Linked DNA regions of Homo sapiens: region 2 is linked to region 1. The links are contacts of gene promoters, found by promoter capture Hi-C in blood cells and fetal thymus (Javierre and others, 2016). All regions are on one chromosome and are shown on one strand. Each heading gives the region's core, a stretch centred on a gene start or on the middle of the fragment in contact. The rest is flanking DNA. Distances are from core to core; before and after follow the strand shown.

Region 1 (3,400 bases), core at 425-2,924:
GGCATGGCAGCAGACACCTGTAATCCCAGTTATTCGGGAGGCTGAGGCAGGAGAATTGCTTGAATGCAGGAGGCAGAGGTTGCAGTGAGCCGAGACGGCGCCACTGCACTCCAGCCTGGGCAACAGAGCAGATGGAGACCATCCTGACCAACATGATGAAACTCTGTCTCTACTAAAAATACAAAAATTAGCTGGGCATGGTGGCGTGCACCTACTAGTCCCAGCTACTCGGGAGGCTGAGGCAGGAGAATTGCTTGAACCCAGGAGGCGGAGGTTTCAGTGAGCCGATACCGCGCCATTGCACTCCAGCCTGGGCAACAGAGCGAGACTGTGTCTCAAAAAAAAAAAAAAAAAGGAGATGCACATGTTTAAGTCTATTTCAGGCGGTTAGCTGGTGGATTGCTACAATTCCTCTGTAAGTTTAAAAAATCATGTAAGTGCTGTTTTGGAGTACTGTAATAACTCTTGAGATGTAGAACACATCTGCAAAATGAGGGTAGTATAAAAGAGACGAGGGGATGAGGGTAATACATAAGAAATAGGGGAAAGGACAAGAACAGGTAAATTAAACTTCAAGTACTATTTTTGCTATTGCTGTCTACACTCAACTAGCAAGGAAAAAGCCTTGCTTCTGCTCTGCGGGTTTTCTTCGGGTTTAACTTGACCAAGCAAAACAGACCATCTGGGATTAACTTTTTCCTTTTCACTGTAGGTCACAGGCTCTACGTGTAGGGTGTTGGCCACCTGTTCTTCCACCATCTCTACCTCCACCTCCTCCTTTGTGGCCACAGCAATGTCACAGCCCATACATGGGGGAGGGGAGCATTCAGGAACTCGGAGGCAGATGCATTTTTTTCCAAACACAATAACCTCAAACAGTGGTCTCTAAGCACTTTCCTATGCTCTTCCAAAACGTGACCTCCCCTCTTACTCACACATCCCCTACACACGGAAAAGGACCACTATCCGTCCAGCCTGCGCTCGAGGGAGAAGTTTATACCTTCGTCCTAGAGATGCCAAATGCAGCAGGGAAGGCTGGACCGAGGCAGCCGAGTGCTGGAAAGGGAGGCAAGAGGTGCGGGAGCGGGGAGAGGGGGAGGGGAGGCCGGGGCGCCGCGGGAGTAACCTCCACCGCACCCCACCGCTCCGAGGGGCAGCCGGCCCGGCCCGAGTTTCTCCCCAGAAGCCTCCAGCCGCGGCTCTCGGGGAGGAGGAAGGAAGGGGTTCCCCGTCCAGGAAGCAGCACCAGCGGCGACCGCCTCCAGCCTCACCCTCCTCAGCCCCGCACCGCCCATTCCTCACTCCCCGCGCCGCCGCGTCCGCGCGCCTCCCCCCTGCAGACCCCTCTCACCCAGCCCGCCCCGACCCCGCGCCCGCGCCCCCCACCCGCCCCTCCGGGGACCCCTAATTCATTCACTCGCCGCCGGCCCCGCCCGGCGCCGGCAAAGAGGGTCGGGACCCGGGCAGGGGCCCAGGAGGGGTGGTCCGCTCCGTACCTCTCTCCCGCACCTGGGAGCCGCTGAGCCTCTGGCCCCGCCGCCGCCTTCAGTGCCTGCGCCGCGCTCGCTCCCAGTCCGAAATGGCGGGGGCCGGGAGTACTGGCCGAGCCGCCGCCACCTTCGCCGCCGCCACTGCCGCCGCCGCTGCTGCCTCCGCCGCCGCGGCCGCCGCCTAGGAAAATCGAGCTCCGAGCACACCGATGAGTTCGGGGCCGGGCGGCCGCAGAGGGCAGAGCTATCGATGCGTTCCGCGCTCGATTCTTCTTCAGACGGGCGTACGAGAGGGAGCGGCTGAGGGCGGTGTGGGAAGAGGGAAGAGGGGGAGGCAGCGAGCGCCGGCGGGGAGAAGGAGGGGGCCGGGCCGGGCCGGCGGGGGAGGAGCGGGGGCCGGGCCGGCGGAGGAAGGGGTGGCTGGGGCGGTCTAGGGTGGCGAGCCGGGCCGGCTGGAGAGCGGGTCTGGGCGGCGCCTTGGCGGGAGGAGGGACTGCCGGACCCACGCGGCGGCCCGCCCCCTGCCTAGCCGCAAGGCTGTCCCCGCAGCCGCCAATTCTGACCCGGAGCGGGACCGGACCGCGGCGGGCTGTGCGGATGCCACCAGGGAGACGCCGCGAGCGGCCACGCCGCCCCGCTGACCGGTCTCCACAGAGAAGCTGCGAAGAGCACCCCGCCACCCTCAGGGTCGGCCTATACTGGCGCGCATCCATTTACTATCATTGACTGCATGTAAATAAACAAGCAGTCACCAAAAGTGGGAGGCGACTTCGGGGACTTAGGGAGACCGGGCGGACGATTTCCCACACCGGGGCTGTCTGATCGCCGCCCCGATTATTATCAGCCTCAGCACTTGGGCTGGGAATTTAGCCCCAGGCCCAAACAAACACGACAGACCCTTTCAACGCTAATCTTCTCGGGTCAGGAGGCTTGTGATATTTTGCTATCTTTCTTGATATTTTGAACCCATCACAAGGTCTCTAAACAGGGACTTCGCTTATACCCAGGGCCCCTGAAATCACAAACAAAAGACAACTGTTTTTAAGTAGAGATGGCCTTGGTAGTTTAGACCTGAGGAGAGTCATTCAAACATTAATTAGAAGACAGATTAATCAGTTAAAGTTCGTGGAGTTAAGACATTAAACAATGGGGCAATTAAACATGCTAGCATACCCGGAGTCTGTGTTGATAAACTACCTAGAAATGTATCTTGGGAGAGTCTTGAGGATTGAGGGCTGGAAAAGCAGCGCCTGTACCTGATAGGATCGCCCCTCCTCCGAGACTTTCAGTTCCATTCCTCTAGTCCACATCATAAACCACCAATAAAGCTGAATTTAAATCCCAGCTATTATGTCTGTTAACCAAGGCTTTACATCAACTGTCATCCTTTCCTTTCTACTCTTACACGGGCTGTAATCTGCAAGGTTTATTCCAGTCTCCCCCTCCTAGCGCCAGGTGGAAGGGGCAGAAGAGAAAAGTGAAAGACAGGGAAGGGGAGAAAATGTGCCTACTCTATGTTAAGTACAAGCTAAATCTTTTGCACTTATCGTATCATCTTATTTAATCATCACGACAACCTTATGAGGTAAAATACTTTTTACCGTTTTACAAATGACGAAACAGATTTAGAGGTTAAAACGTTGGCACAAGTTCACATAGTTAAAAAATGGAGTATACTTCATGTCGGATCATAGTCACTCTACTCCCAGATCATCAGTGGCCCTCATTCCACTTGACATAAAAGCAAAATTCTTCTCAAAAATCCTACATGGCCTTAAATTATTTGATATCCCCTACCCTCTTCTCTGAACTCTCATCCTACTGTTCTCCCTTCCTTACTTACGTAGATAAACATTGGTTACTGGCTGTTCCTTGAAAATGCCAGGCAGGCGTCTTCCTCAGGGAATATG
Region 2 (3,351 bases), core at 467-2,966, 240 kb before region 1:
AGTTCAAGACCAGCCTGGGCAACATGGTGGAATCCCATCTGTACAAAAAATACAAAAATTAGCTGGGTGTGGTGGCACATGCCTGTAGTCCCAGCTACTAGGGAGGCTGAGGTGGGAGGATTGCTTAAGCCCAAGAGATTGAGGTTGCAGTGAACCAGGAGCATTCCAGCTGAGCAACATAGCAAGACCCTGTGTCAAAAAACAAACAAAAAAAAAAAACAGTTCTCTCTCTAAATAACTGTATTAGTCATTTTATTTCTCTTTCTAATAGTGTCACATCTAAATGACATGTTAAGTTTAAATAATGTTAAAGTTATTAAAAACTTTGAAGTTATTCAGCCTCCTTTATGAGTATCTCCTCCTTCTAATTAAGAGACTTTTTTTTTTCTGATGTCATGGTCTATCCTTATTTCCTTAAGGGAAGAACCTTCTCTGTGGCATCTGCCCTCTCAAACTTCTACTTAATTTTTCCCTCTCCTTTGCAAGTAGCCAGCCCAAGGCAGGCCTTTGATGGGAGTAAAAGAAAAGTCTTATGTTTAAAAAAGATTGGTGTGTCAATGACTAACATAGTTTGGATGATTTTCTTTTCTGAATGTGATAGTAGGGATGACTGTCTAAAAATGCCTCCTCCACCCCCTAAAAAGTAGAAATTTTCACTTGAGATTGAAATTTTAACTAAAGTAGAGAAAAAAACTTCCTTCATTGAAGGCTTTTCAAGGAACTGAAAGGAAAAAATGTAATGTCATTTTGGTCACCTCCCATGAGAAATTATTGATTACATATATCATCAATATTTAAACCTCGCAACTCTGTGTGATAGGTATCATCGTCCCCATCTCAGATAAAGAAACAGGTTCAGAGAGGTTAATATTCCCAAAGCTACACAGCTGGTAATCTTCAGAGCCAAGATTTGACACTAGGTCCATTAGACTTTAGCCCAAGGCCAGTGTTCTTTACAATATACCATGCCAGCTCCGCAGGACTGCCAGGGTTATATATCATGTTTCTAGGATCAGGAAACATTAAAGAGATAGGTGCTTCACTTGTGAAAAATATAACTTTTCTGTCTTTCAGAACTGATCTGCTCTTCTTTTTCCAAAGGCTCAGTCGGAGTGGCCAAAATAATCAATTTCCTGAGACAAACAACTAGCCAAAATTCTGAAGACAGTGGCCTTGAGCAGTTGTGGAACATGCTTGATCCTGAGAAGAGAGACCCACATGTGGACCTGGAAACTTTCCAGGCCATGATGAAAGACTGGATGGCTTACTGTGGAAACACATGGTAATCAGAGTCCTAGTGGGATGCAGTTTAAGGTTCTATTTTAACAACTGATTATAATTATGCTAATCACTGTTTCCTGTGTTGATGGAAATACTATTGTCCAGTGCTTTAGCATGCATTAGAATCACCTGAATGATGTTAAACCTGATTGCTGGGGTCCCACCATCATGATTCAGCAGATCTGGGGTGAAGCCTGATAATTTACATTCTAACAAGTTTCCGATGATATTGATGCTGGGAGTGGGCTGGACATGCTTTGGGAACCACTGCTGTCATTCATTTCTTGTGATTAGTGGGGAGCACATGTGATACTCTCACAGAGAATTGAGCTGACATACGAGTCAGGTGAATTATTGATACTATCAAATCTCCAAATGTATTTAAATTCAATAATAGACTCCCTTTTAAGGGCAGTGGGGCTAGTCAGTGAATGTAATTTGGAATCCTAGAATATAGGGAGGCTAAGGGGAACAAGAAAGAATAGTAGAATAGGAAAAAGAAAAAGGTAAAGGAGGAGAAGGGCACCCCATGATCTCAGGTGCCCTTGGCAGATGCTGGAGATGTGTGTCTTCTTCCACAGAAAGCGAATTCCCTTTTTTTTTTTTTTTTTTTTTTTTTTCTGAGACGGAGTTTCACTCTGTTGCCCAGGCTGGAATACAGTGATGCAATCTCTGCTCACTGCAACCGCTGCCTCCCGGGTTCAAGCAATTCTCCCGCCACACCCTCCAGAGTAGCTGGAATCACAGGTGTGTGCCACCATGCCCGGCTAATGCTTGTATTTTTAGTAGAGAAGGGGTTTCACCATGTTGTCCAGGCTGGTCTCGAACTCCTGATCTCAGCTGATCTGCCCACCTCGGCCTCCCAAAGTGCTGGGATTACAGGTGTGAGCCACCCACTGCACCTAGCCAAGAAACCTAATTCCTATGCCTCCTATTCAGCCACCAATCTTCAGCTATCTGCTGATGCATGCTAGGATTTGCTTAAAGAAAATGTTGACAGGGCGCGATGGCTCACACCTGTAATCCCAGCATTTTGGGAGGCTGAGGCAGGTGGAACAGCTGAGGTTGGCAGTTGGAGACCAGCCAGGCCAACGTGGTGAAACCCTGTCTCTACTAAAAATACAAAAATTAGCTGGGCGTGGTGGTTCACGCCTGTGATCCCAATCACGTGGGAAGCTGAGGCGGGAGAATTGCTTGAACCTGGGAGGTGGAGGTTGAAGTGAGCCGAGATCGTGCCATAGCACTCTAGCCTAGGCAACAGAGACTCCGTCTCAAAAAGAGAGAAAATGTCAAGCCCAAGGAACGGAAAAACTTACCAGATTTCTGGTAGGATTAGGATGTATAGATAACTTAAGAAAATATGACTGAAATGTTGCATGCCATACACAGGTTATTCATGAAGTCAAGATAAATATATAGAAATAAGTAATGTTAGTGTAATCAAAAACTGCAAATACAGATATAACATTTCTACCCATGAGTTTAACAAAGATTTTTAAAAAATGACTCTAGCCCATGTGGTGGACTGTGAAAAGGGTGGAGAAATAAGCCCTCCCATATATTATTGGTAGTAGTGCAAGTTAGCATAGCTTTTTTAAGAGCAATTTAGGAATGTGTATCAGGCCCTTAAAAATATGCAGTCTTGGCCGGGGGTGGTGGCTCGTGCCTGTAATCCCAGCACTTTGGAAGGCCAAGGCGGGAGCATCACCTGAGGCCAGGAGTTTGAGACCAGTCTGGGCAACTTAGCAAGATTCTGTCTCTACAAAAAAATTTTAAAATTAGCCAGGAGTGGTGGCATGCGCCTGTAGTCCAGGCTACTTGTGAGGCTGAAGCAGGAGGATTGCTTGAGCCCAGGAGTTTGAGGCTGCAGTAAGCTGTGACAGAGCCACTACACTTCAGCCTGGGCAAGAGAGCAAGGCCCTGTCTCCAAAACAAAAACAAAAGACAAAAGGCAGGCTCTTTGAGAAGTAATGTAACTTTAAGAAAGATAAGAAAGATAATTAATTGTAAATGCTAATATAGAAGGTAGAAGGTAGTTTATGACAGTGATAAATACAAGCAATCTAGATA

Evidence for each region. The method cuts DNA at HindIII sites, captures the fragments that hold promoters and counts their contacts. A CHiCAGO score of 5 or more calls a contact.
Region 2: a fragment that was not itself captured here is called in contact with the fragment with the promoter of KRAS in region 1 in 1 of 17 cell types (neutrophils); the score reaches 6.6 in neutrophils.

Annotation. Positions count from the first base shown.
Region 1 is chr12:25,249,255-25,252,654 of GRCh38, forward strand. It overlaps KRAS (KRAS proto-oncogene, GTPase), which reads right to left and starts at 1,675. Exons shown (of 5, transcript NM_004985.5): 1 at 1,497-1,675. RefSeq lists silencers at 1,276-1,325, 1,386-2,235. The HindIII fragment of the contact is 14,779 bases long and covers 1-3,400 here.
Region 2 is chr12:25,010,270-25,013,620 of GRCh38, forward strand. It overlaps a transcript of IRAG2 not described here. Among named protein-coding and RNA genes, the nearest start is that of LINC02909, 14 kb to the left of the region's middle. The HindIII fragment of the contact is 5,001 bases long and covers 1-3,351 here.